Regions from separate parts of the Homo sapiens genome. Here regions 1, 3 and 4 are each linked to region 2. Evidence: promoter capture Hi-C in 16 types of primary human blood cells and fetal thymus (Javierre and others, 2016). All regions are on one chromosome and are shown on one strand. Each heading gives the region's core, a stretch centred on a gene start or on the middle of the fragment in contact. The rest is flanking DNA. Distances are from core to core; before and after follow the strand shown.

Region 1 (3,435 bases), core at 475-2,974, 310 kb after region 2:
CCAGTGGGGTATCTTCTTTTGGAGAACTCCAGAAGACATCACCATGGATGGAGAGCACTTCAGCAAGTGAGCATGCTGATCCCAGGGTTGTCCAGGAACAACTTTGCTGGTTGCTTACTCTATATTTTTATCACACTGATTACAAACACAGAGACTATTTAAAGAGTTGTCTGTATCTTTTCCAAAAACAGGACTGGCTACATAATTCAGTGAGCCCAGGGCAGACTAAAAATGCTGAGCCCCTTTTAAAAAAATATTAATATCTTCAAGATGAAGATGTAACACATTAAGCCACATGCAACTGCACAACTCCTAGGCCCACAAAGCCAGCCCTGTCCAGAAGGTAATGTCACTTTAAATATTGAAGCCAGCTAAATCTCTCCTATTCTGTCTAGTACTGGATACCATAGGCATTAGAATATAGCAAGTTCAGGTCAGAATCCTAGCTCTATCACATATCAACTATTGGATTTGGGACAAGTTATTTTGAGTTTCATTACTGAAATATAGTTATGCAAATTAAACTTTCATTCACATGCCAACATCACATATAAATTATACTTGTAAGTTCTATTCTTATGAATTTACAAATAATGTTATGTGTTATAAAATAAGAATGTATAAAAATTTGTGGCTTTAAAATTTTGGTATTTGTTTTAGAGTATTAATTACAGATGGCTGTTCATATCCACGGGTTCCTCATCTGTGGATTCAACCAACCATGGATCGAAAATAATCAGAAAAATTAAAATGGATGATTGACTTTGTACTGAACATGTAGATTTTTTTGTCATGATTCCCTAATCAATGCAGTAATACAACTATTTATATGGCATTTAAATTGTATTAGGCATTATAAATAATCTAGAGATGATTTAAAGTACATGGGAGGATGTGCATAGGTTATATGCAAGTACAGCATGAATGTTGTTTTGTTGTAACATTGAAGAGAAAAAAAATCAATTCTTGGCCTGGACCACGTCTGTGTTGAGTTTGCACGTTCTCTCCATGTCTGTGTGGGTTTTCTGCAGGCATTCTGATTTCCTCTCACGTTCCAAAGATGTGCATGTTAGTTTAACTGGCATGTCAAAATGGTCCCATTCTAAGTGAGTGTGGGTGTGTGTGCCTAATTGCTCCCAGCAATGGAATGGTGTCAGCCTTGGCCCTGGGCTGCTGGGATAGGCTCCAGCTACCCGGGATCCTGAACTGGAGTAGTTGGATAAACATTTATCTGATTTGTTTTTTTGAGCCTTTCTTAAAGGTATATATAGCTCACATTTATTTCACTGTTGAATATCAGAAGTGTTTTGGTCTTTAATTAGAAGTTTGGTGATGTTTTTGTGACAAGAAATATGCCATAAGAACTTAATTCTTATTTATGTCAATTAGCCTATGATTAAATAGATTTTGTTATACATTGTTTTACTTAAAGTTGCAGTTTCCAAGAACTTATCAATGATGATGAGAATTTATTGTGCTACAACTTTTTTATATGAGGAGCTTGAGCATCCATAGATTTTGGTAGGGATTCTGGAACCAATCACCCATGGATTCCAAGGAACAACTGTATACTAATTAAAACAGTCTTTTGGAGTTTTTTTTTCTTGCCCCCTTGGCTATCAATTTTATCGCATTCTCAGTTGTGAGCTACTAATCAAAAGTTTGATTCATGATTAAAAATACTTTTAGATGTTTTTAATATTTAAGTAAAAGTTATAAATTTAGGATTAAGAACATAATATAATGCATTATATATGTTGTATATTGTATTCTTCATTATAATCATTCAAAATTAGTTTTTGATACTCATAGGTACATCCATTTAAATTACACCATGCTTAATAATTTTAAAGATTCATTTATTTATGTTTTGTCTTTCAGTCTTATACAGAAAAGCAGGAGTGCTAATTTTGGACTGTGAAGCTCTCTCTCTGGGTGGCCTGGCAACTTTTTTCATTGTCTTCCAGTGCTAGAGAACTGGCTTTTTAAAGTACATCATTAAGAAACTGGCCCCAAAACTGAAAGTGTCTATTACCCTGAGCAAGATCATTGTTATGCTTATTCCATTAAAAAAAAAAAACAAAAAAAGCAGCGAGGGGCAGAATATCTCTGCCAGGACCCAGCTCCATGGTCCAATCACAACTCTCTAGCATATTACAAAAACAAGAGACCCTCATTCCTGCTGACCCTCTGCCTGTGAGTTCTTACGTACATTACGTGATGCTTGCTGCTGTGTGCTGCTCCCGGTCTTTGGAAGAGAAATCTTAGTAAGTCATTGTGGAATAACTGAGGCAAAATTGTAGCTTTACAAAAAAACTGTGGCAAGAACAGTTAATGAGATCTACCTTCTAAACAAATGTGTAAGTTTTAATACAGTATTGTAAACTTTAAGCACAATTTTATACAGCAGATCTAACATCCATCTTACAAAATTGAAACGTTATGCCCATTGAATAGCAACTCCCTATTTCCCCCTCCATCTAGCCCCTGGCAACCATTCTAATCTCTGCTACTATGAGTTGACTATTTTAGTTACCTCATATAAGTGGAATCAGGTCATTGATCTTCTGTCGCTGTCTTATTTCACTTAGCAAAATGTCCCCAGGAATTCTTAACCTTATTTACCAGAGAGAAACATAAAGATGGGTGAAGTGAAATTACCAAGGTCACAAATCTAGTGATCAGCATTAATTGTCATTTGACTTTCCTATTCCAAGATAAATCATCAGTGATGCAGGCTTCTTGAGGGTGGAGGGGAAGCTAACATATTACTTACAGAGCCTCTCACAAGCACTTTTTATGTATTGACACATTTCATTCCATAACAAACCTCTAGGACAGGTACTAATATTACCCCTTTTTTACTGTGGAAGAAACGGAGGCAAAAGGAAGTTTGATAACTTCCTGGAAGTCATCTCCCCTTTAGTGAGTTGTAAAGCTCAAGTTCAAATCCAGATATCCTGGGGCCAGAGTCCATTTTCTTACCCTCTAGCTGTATTGAAACTCACATACTGGCTCAGGAACCCTTTCCTACTGCTAGGAATGCTGTCCAAACATAGCCATTCTGGGTCAAATAACCAGTTCTTTCCCTGAGGCAGGGAAAGGGAAGAATCTCTCCACTGGGAGTCAGGTTGTTGTGCAGGGCATCCGCAGGTAAGCAGAGCCAAGGTTGTGACCCAAGTCACTGGTGGGGTAGGCCAAAGGCAACAGAAATGCAGGGAGATGATGGGATAAATCAATAATCTTAAATCCATCAGATGACAGTTTATGACATATTTTTTCATGTCACCCATTAGGGATTCAAAATCATCAAAGTCACCAACACACTTTTTGTGCAGGACTGCTCTATGTATTGCAGGAGGCCTAATATCTCTGTGCATTGTCCTTTCAATGCTAACAATGTCTGTATCAAAGTGGCACCTACAAATGCTCCCT
Region 2 (3,025 bases), core at 344-2,843:
GGACACATGGCAATAAAGCCAATATATACAGTTTAGAATCACCTAAATTATGTATCTTCTTTCCTATGGGCCTTGAGATCACATATCCCAGTTTAGATCTCATTTCAGCAGCACGTTACATTAAAACAGCATTAACTCAAAAGCTGTGTTTCTAAGACTTGCTAAGTTAGTTTTGTAAAAAAAACAAAAAAAAAAAACAAAAAAAAACCTTATTCTCGTATTTGTATAAATTGAATATTTAAAAAATAGAAAGTTGTAAATTTGATCTGTAGCAATATAAACTATCTTAACAGGTTGTCCTGGACATACAACTTAGGTAGAGGAGACAGCCTAATTGAAAGTGTATATTTATTTTTCATCCATTCATACATAAATATCTCAGCAAGGGCATTTAGTTCTCAGGACTTCAGGAAACACTATGCACGTAGAATACAATGCAAATTTTGCAAACTGAGCTGTTCCAACTTCACCCTATCCCCAAAGGATTTGGCATGACTTTCCTACGAGTAATATGATTGAGGAGGACTTTAAACATAAGAGTTTTAGCATTCATGCTATAGAAATGTCCTAAGTAACCCTCTCTATTCTCTATCTTTTACTACCCTGAAAAAAGTGATAGTTTCTCTTGAATTACTTTCAGCATCAGGATGGGAAGCAGAATAAACAAACAAATAGCTGATAAAGTTGATTTGTGAACTCCTTCTAGCTGAGAAGGACTGATTGATGTCTAGTTGGTCTTAACTTCCTATATGGTACATTAACCAGGAGGATTTTTTTAATGTAAAAATAGGATTTAGGATTTGTTAGAAAGTATTGACCTAATAAATGTCTGAGTATAATATAAAAATGTGATTTAACAATGGCCAATAATATTTAAATGTTTTAATAATTATAAAATTTTAGCAACTGAAATTTGAAAGTTTACAAATTATGCCTAGAAATTAATTTAATTCCTTCTGAAATATTTTTTCAAACATATCTTCTTTTACATTTTTAAGATGGAGAATTCAGGTTTAAAATCTGGACCTCAAGTAAAGAAATCGCCTTCATGCTTAGATGATACAATTGAACTATGTACCTGCTGCCATCTTGTGGTGGCTGAGCCTTAATTATTTATCCTGATATTCTCCATCTGCATACAAAAAAGAAAAAGAATTATGATGGACTAGAAAACTGTCAAAAAAGCAAAGTTTCTAAAAAGTAAACTGAAAAGCTAAATTTACAAACCTATGCTTATATGATGGAATGAATAACATGGAATTGTCATTTTGAAGATGACAAATAAAATAATTCAAATCTCTCATGAAGTAAACACCCTCAGAAGTATAAAACCAACTTTTTTCACTGTCAAATTTAATACTCCTTATTTTCTTTCTAAAGGTGAAAACCATTAATGAAAAGCTTACAATTGGGAAGATTTCAAAGTACTGGTCAGGATTTGTAAATGATGTCTTCACAAATGCTGACAATTTCGGAATTCATGTTCCTGCAGATCTAGATGTAACAGTCAAAGCAGCAATGATCGGTGCCTGTTTTCTCTTTGTAAGTATGGGCTTTGAGAGCATGAGTGATTTGTTATTCTCCCTCTTGCTTGTTAATTACAATATAGCCTATCCCATTTACACAGTTTTTACCCCCAAAGAGTATATTTTATTCATAGAAGGATAGCTTAGGACCAATGTTCTTCAAAAATTAGAATTTAGAACCCTGCATTTCTGTTAGGCAGCCCCTCTTCAGTGATCTCATATCCCCTTTCTCAAAGATTGAAGTGTTATCACATCCTATTCATCATTTCTTTAAAACCTAGTTTCCCCTTGCTTTTACGTTCAATTTAGATTTTTGGCTTATTTTCACTTGAACTAAAAAATATGCAAACATAAATATCACATGATTTATCCTGGATAAAGTTCCAGACTGGTTCATTGCATAATAGTGAGCTAGATGATATTAAGAATGTTGCCTTCTCAGTGTGAACATAGACACATGAAATGATTTGATGAGTTAATAGGTACCAGTTGCCATTATTTCTAAGATACTATGTTCTTGTTATTACTTTCCAACTTACAATTATATTGAAAACCTTTTCTTCTTTGGTATATGGAGATTGGTGATAGAAGAACAGAAGTCAAATAATACCTGTATCAAAATGCTTGACCTATATCCTGTTCTTAGTTTTCCCTCTAATATTTACCTAATTTCCTACCATTTTCAATGCAGCCATAAAAACTTATGGAGTTTTTATTTGTTGATATATAAACACATGTATTTTCTATAAATACATGAAAAAGATGTGTATACACAGGCACACACATAAGTGATTAAAACAAACAGCATAAGAGTTGAGAGTAGGTTGCAGACATGATGCCTTTTCCCCTAATTATATTAGTGTGCATTTCCTAAAAACAAGGAATTTTTTTACACATCACAGTACTATTGTCAAAGTCAGGCACTAAACACTGATTCAATGCTATTATCTAATCTACAGACTTTATTCGGTTTGCACTGATTTGCATAATGATGTCCTTTCTGACAATAGAAAATCCAAGATCATGAAGTATGTCCATTTTGTCACATCTCATTTGTTTCTTTTCACCTGGAACTGTTCCTAAGGGGTGTGTGTGTGTGTATATGTGTGTGCATGAACATGTGCACATGCATGTGCATTTCCCTGAGTCTCATGACATTGGCATTTTTGTTTTTGTTTTATTTTTTGTTCTATTTTTTGAGATAGAGTCTCACTCTGTCACCCAGGCTGGAGTGCAGTGGCGCAATCTTGGCTCACCACAACCTCTGCCTCCCAGGTTCAAGCGATTCTCCTGCCTCAGCCTCCCGAGTAGCTGGGATTACAGGCATGTGCCACCATACCCGGCTAATTTTTTTGTATTTTTAGTAGAGATGGGGTTTCACTGTGTTAGCCAGGATGGTCTCGATCTTCTGACCTCGTGATCCACCCGCTTTGGCCTCCCAAAGTGCTGGGATTATAGGTGTGAGCCACCTTGCCCAGCCGACATTGGCATTTTTTAAG
Region 3 (2,990 bases), core at 185-2,684, 330 kb after region 2:
TATTTATGAAGTCATAAACCTCACAGTGTCATGAACCAACATAATACAATGGTGAATTTATATAGATACAGATACAGATATATGTATATAGATAGATAGATATAGTATCTAGCATATCACTAGAACATGGAAAACAGGGAAGTGCTACATGGTGAAGCAAAAAAAAAAAATTAAGCAAATGCAAGAAAATTAGGGCTGTATGTTCTACAATACATATTAAGAGTTTTCTTGAAAACTGTAGGCTTTAAAATGAAAAATCTTCCCTGAAAAATGAAAGACTTTAACCTGGAAGTGACATTATCAGCTTTGTATTTCAGAAGTCTTGAGCAATTTTGTAGAAAAAATAGACTCTTTTCATTACATGTTTAAGACTTTAGTAAATTTTTTAACATTCATTATTTTAAATCACTGACACATACTTGAATAACTCACATTCCTAAATATATACATAAAATGTCAGTAGATCTGATTCAGCCAAAATTCTTTAAATCAGCAAATAATTCACTTTGCATATAGACACTATACAAAAAGAATTTGTTATTTATCGACATTTAAGGACAATGGCAAACTTGTGTGTCTTTAATCACAACTTAAACATTCACACTATTGAATTAAATGCCCTGATGTTATAATAATTATGCAGATTGTGACATACGAGGCTGCCGTGTACAAAATTTGAATTTAAAATACTCTTTTCATCGATATATAGTTAAATTACTTGCCTGACTTCAAGAAATATTTCCTTTTTCTCATTTTTGCTTTTGGGAATGCCAGCCTCAAAAATTTTCTAGTTCCTCAAATTTTTGTTGAACTGCATTAACCATTTTAGGATTTTGTAAAAATATATAAATACGTAATGATCACATGGCCTAGCCATTAGTAAAGTATAAATACTCTAAATTTAAAATAGTTTTAGACATTTCACAGATATATTTGTATTAATCTGTCTGAAGTATACCTAAGATAAAATATTGTTAAATTAAAAAGTAAGATTTAAATATATCTCTATGAATAGACAGAAAAGTTGGTTAATATGCTTTGTGAAAGGAAAAAAGAGATACCCTATAATTAAATTTCAAGGAACAGAGCACGCTTTTGAAAAAGATTGTTTTACTGTCTCTTTCTACATTGAATTGAATATCATAACATTTTAAACAAAGTTTATGACAGTAAGCTTTAGATTCAATACAGACTTTGGTTCAGATCTCAGCTCCATCACTTGTTGGGTCAAGTTACTTATCCTCTCAAGCCACAGTTTTCTCATTTTTTTCCTCTTTCCACTACTGCCACACCCCAGATAACCCATATTTATAAAAGTAGTTTGTTCTTCCATTTTTCCCCATGCTTATGTAATCACATGTAAGCATATCTAGTGTATGCATACATATAAGCATGGCGTATATATCTATATGTAAGTATATATAAAGTTTTTTCCAACAAAATTTAACCATTGTGTTTTTAGAGCAATTTTACTTCAGAAAGATTTAAGATCCTTTTCCATTTGTAAGCAATCATTTCTAAATATGCTTCTCGATGTATTTAAATGATAATTGATAGAAGTTCCGTATGTTCCCCCAAATACTTCAGTTGCTCTTTTACATTCTTTATTCTTGTGTTCTTGGAGATGCAACTCACTTTCTACTCCATGTATCAAGGTCAATTTGACCCAGATAGCATAAATGAGTTCAAGCTTTTAAAATCATATCAACTATAGCCATGGGGACAAAAATCATGAAAATATTGTATTGAAATCACTCTCAATTTTCTTTTCAACATCACAGAATGTGTGAAGATTCAGAAAACTAGTAAAAAGCGAATTGTGTCCCAATTTTCAAGAAAAGAAAATATTGACTTGTAGAAATTACACACAGAAACACTCACACATTTTGTAATAGTTTCCTAGTATTGCCTTAAAAAATTACCACACACGAGATCATTTAAAACAACGGAATTTTATTTTCTCTCAGTTGTGAAGGCCAGAAAACTGAAAATATATATATATATGTTGGTAGGGTTATTTCCTTCTTGCAGACTCAGAAAGAATTTGTTTCATGCCTCTCTCTTAGACTCTAGTGGTTGCTGGCAATCCTTGGTGCTCCTTATCTAGACGCATCACTCTAATCTCTGTCTTTATTGTCACATGGGTTCTCTCTGTGTGTCTGTCTCTGTATCCAAATTTCTCTCTTCTTATAAGGCCACAGTTATTGGATTAGGGTGCACCCTAATACGGTATTGGTTTTCTTTTATTTTGATTACATCTATACAGACAATTTCTAAATAAAATCATATCAAAATATCTTTTTGGGGGACACAACTCAACTAACAACGCATTGTAATGTCAGTTTCAGGCAAATTTATAGTACAGAAGTTGTAAATAATAGCATTTGAGCATTTAACAAAGGCAGTATTGTGTTCTCAATCAAATCTTATAAAATGGACTCATTTCCCCTTCCCTCCTGACTGGTGGAGTAGAGAGATCATGAGCATGTCATAATAAACACTGTTTTTAACACATTAAGCAGAGATTTTAATATTCATTGCTGTGAGCAAGACATTTTAAAATGTGGATTATGTAAAAGGAAAGTCTAAATGGATTTTTAGCTGGTTGAACAATTACAGAAGGTATTGATTACTGAATTTCTGTCATCCTAGAGGTTAATCTCAGAAATGACCTATTAGATTCTTTATCTAACCCAACATTTGTTTCAGTGACATAAATTTAGACATAAAGAAAAAGATTATCAAATTCCATGTGACAAAATCTAAGAAAATGGCTAACATGATAGGTAAACATAATACAGATTCAATTATTAACCTTAATATGCTACATCTGATTTTAGTCACAAGGCTGAGAAGCCAAATGGGCTTAATAAGGAAGATAAAATTATATAGGCACAGTGTGAGTTTCTATTTCTAAAATCAAAAATCAGCTGTCCACACAATAACCATATCTGCAGTTTTAAAAAGCTGGTTAGATGAGAGCCTCCTAA
Region 4 (3,218 bases), core at 365-2,864, 290 kb after region 2:
ATGTGTAAAGTGCTTATAATTACACCTGGCATATAGAGAGCAAGCATTACAAATGTATTATTATTATATTACTTTTTCTTTTTAAAATGAAAGTCTATTGTTAACTTGATATTTCAGGTTTATATCAGACCTGTATTATTCAATTTTTCAGAAGCTATTCAATTGCATTGCCTTTTAAAAAATACTTAAAACATAATTCTATTTCAATTTTGAATTAACAGAAATAGAAGAAACATATTCATTACAGCTAACCCTTAAGCTAAGGATCTCCCACAGCAGTGATTGTCAAACTTAATTGTACATCAGAATCACCTGGAGCATTGTTCAACTACAAATTGCTGGGCCCATCCTCAGAGTTTCCCATGCAATATGCTTAGGGTAGAGCCAAAAATATTGTATTTCTAAGTATTTCAAATATAATATTAATGCTGCTGCTCTGAGGACCACTCTTGAAAACCATTGTCTTAGTAAATGAAATCTACTGTTTGTTGGGGAAATAATTTTGGAAATTTAAACAGTAAATTTATTCTGTGTATGCATGTCCATATATAAAGTGATTATTTAAAAGATGTGTAAAATTAATAATATGTAATTTGCTATGTAATTACAAAGGTAAGATTTACGTTTACATAAATAAAAATTATGTAAATACAAATATGCAGGAGGTTTAACATCCATGTAACACTTTTAATTACATGTTAAGTGATTTTAAAGCAACCAACAGAAAAATGATTCAACAAGCAGTTACAAATTGTCCTGAAACAGATGAAAAATAGCAAAACAGAAATAGAATTTAGTTAAAGGAAACAAATCGAAATGATAGATCTGAAAAATAACGTAAGATAAATTTTTAAAGCTTGCTAGATTGGCTCAGTAGTAGAATGGAGATGGCAGAGAATAGAATCGTTAAGTTCCAATCTGAATACTGATTTACAGATAGGAAGCAGTTATTCCAATCTGAATAACGGAGAGAAAATAGACTGAAAAAAACATATGAATAGAGTCTCAAGGACCTGTAGAATAATAAACCATCCAACATTTATGACATTAGAGAGGTAGGTTGAAAGAGCATTAAAAAATAATGATGTTTAAAACTTTCCAAATCTGGCAAAATATATAAGCCCACAGATTCAAAACACTGACATGTGTTTACATGGAAAATCCCAAGAAATCTACAAACCAAATAAACAAAACTTCTAAAACTAGTAAATGAGGTTAGCCAGGCCACATGACACATATCAAGGCATGAAAATCAATAGCATTTCTACTAACAATGAGCAGGTAGAAAACAAATTTTAAAGTGCCGTAACATTTATAATCACTCCAAAGAAAATTAAATACTTAGGTATTCATTAAAAAGTCTTAATTTTAGGTAGAATTGTTTCTCTCATTCACTTAAACATGTACAGAATCTGTACGCTGAAAATTATAAAATTCTGGTTAAAGGAATGAAGGAATAAAGGAATGAAGGAAGATAGAAATATAACAATAATTCTTCCCAAATTGATTTCTAAGTTTAATGTAATTCCTGTAAAATCCTCAAAATTGTTTTCTGTAGACCTAGAGCTTATCAGAAAATTTACTTATCATAAAATTATCATAAAATTTATTCTAGGGGCACAGGCCCTAGAATAATTTTTAAAAATGAAAAAAAAGTTAAGAGAGATCTCAGTATACCGAATAGTAACATCTAAGAGTTACAATAATGAGCACTGTGTGATATTGATAGAGGCATAGACATAGAGGTCAATGGGAAAGGGTAGAAAAATAGACCTGCACAAACTTGTTCAACTGATTTTTGACAAAGGTACAAAAGCAATTCGATGAAGGAAAAATTGACTTTTCAACAAATGGTGTGGAAGTAATTAGACATCCAAGGCAAAATTTTACATGGCTTAACCTCACACTTTACACAAAAAAGTTATATGCAAACATGTCAGATATATAAATGTAAAACATAAAATTATAACAATTTAAGAAAAAAATAGGAGAAAATCTTCATGATCTAGGATTAAGCAAAGACTTTATAAACTTGATAACAAAACCACAATACATAAAAGGAAAAAATAATTTGACCGCAACAAAATTTAAAACTTTTTTTTACTCTGCAAAAGGTCCTCTGATGTGAATGAAAAGATAAGCCACAGATTAGGAGAAAATAATTGCCAATTGCATGTAAAAAGTACCCAGAATACAGAGATTGTGGTCAAAATTCAATACCCAAACAAAGAACAACTGTGCATCTAGACTTCCTTATCAAGTGAAAATATGCTTAAACATTGAAGGTAATATAAAGATAATTTGAGGTAAATTAAAATAAAGAATTTGCCACCACCGTACCTGGACTACAAGTAATGCTAAAGAAAGCTTTTCAGGCTGAAGCAAAATTAGACCAACTGCAAACTTCTATGCCTATGAAGAAATAAAGACTTTTTTTAATCTTAATTCCTTTTAATTTTTAAAGCAAAAATTATAGTACAATTATAAACAACAGGGTTTATAACATGTAAAGATGTGCTATACATAAAAACTGTAACACAATGATTGTGCATAGAGTAAATGGACCCATATATTTCAGTCTTTCTACTTTTATAATAATTGGTATAATACTACCTCTAATATGCTGTAAAACATTAAGGATTTATACTATAATCCAGAAAAAAAAAACCCACTAAAAATTATGTAAGCAGTACTGTAGAACAAATGGACTCAATAAATATTTACATAACATTTCTTCCAAAGGCTGCAGAATACAGATTCTTCTCCTCAGCATATGGATTATTCTCAAGGATAGACTACATGTTACATCACAAAACAGATCTTAAAACATTCAAAAAATTGAAATAATATCAAGCATCTTCTCTGAACACAATGCAATAAAACTAGAAATCGAAGAATACTGGAAACTATACAAACACAGGAAGAATAAATATGCTCCTGAATGACCAGTGGGTCAATGAATAAATTAAAAAGAAAACTGAAAAATTTCTTCAAACAAATAATAATGGAAACATACTATTCCAAACCTATGGGATACAGCAAAAGTAGTACCAAAAGGGAAATTTATAGCTATAAGTGATGACATAAAAAAGAAGAAAAACTTGATAAATAATGATACATGTTAAAGAACTAGAAAAGCAAGAGCAAACTGATCATAAAGTTAGTAGAAGAAAATAAATAATAAAGATTAGAGCAGAAATAAATGAATTTGAAATGAA

What was found. Contacts are between HindIII fragments. The CHiCAGO score rates a contact against its expected background, and 5 or more counts as called.
Region 1: a contact is called between a fragment that was not itself captured here and the fragment with the promoter of PLSCR5-AS1 in region 2, in 2 of 17 cell types (naive CD8 T cells and total CD4 T cells). The highest score is 6.9, in naive CD8 T cells.
Region 3: a fragment that was not itself captured here is called in contact with the fragment with the promoter of PLSCR5-AS1 in region 2 in 9 of 17 cell types (naive CD4 T cells, monocytes, fetal thymus and 6 more); the score reaches 9.8 in naive CD4 T cells.
Region 4: a contact is called between a fragment that was not itself captured here and the fragment with the promoter of PLSCR5-AS1 in region 2, in 1 of 17 cell types (monocytes). The highest score is 6.3, in monocytes.

Annotation. Positions count from the first base shown.
Region 1 is chr3:146,278,752-146,282,186 of GRCh38, reverse strand. No RefSeq gene overlaps it. Among named protein-coding and RNA genes, the nearest start is that of PLSCR4, 29 kb to the right of the region's middle. The HindIII fragment of the contact is 4,771 bases long and covers 1-3,435 here.
Region 2 is chr3:146,588,170-146,591,194 of GRCh38, reverse strand. PLSCR5-AS1 (PLSCR5 antisense RNA 1) reads right to left here and starts at 1,593. Exons shown (of 2, transcript NR_046698.1): 1 at 1,407-1,593; 2 at 870-1,132. PLSCR5 (phospholipid scramblase family member 5) reads left to right here. Exons shown (of 8, transcript NM_001085420.2): 6 at 1,381-1,542. The HindIII fragment of the contact is 1,724 bases long and covers 1,404-3,025 here.
Region 3 is chr3:146,259,519-146,262,508 of GRCh38, reverse strand. No RefSeq gene overlaps it. Among named protein-coding and RNA genes, the nearest start is that of PLSCR4, 9.9 kb to the right of the region's middle. The HindIII fragment of the contact is 516 bases long and covers 1,177-1,692 here.
Region 4 is chr3:146,295,138-146,298,355 of GRCh38, reverse strand. No RefSeq gene overlaps it. Among named protein-coding and RNA genes, the nearest start is that of PLSCR4, 46 kb to the right of the region's middle. The HindIII fragment of the contact is 1,511 bases long and covers 859-2,369 here.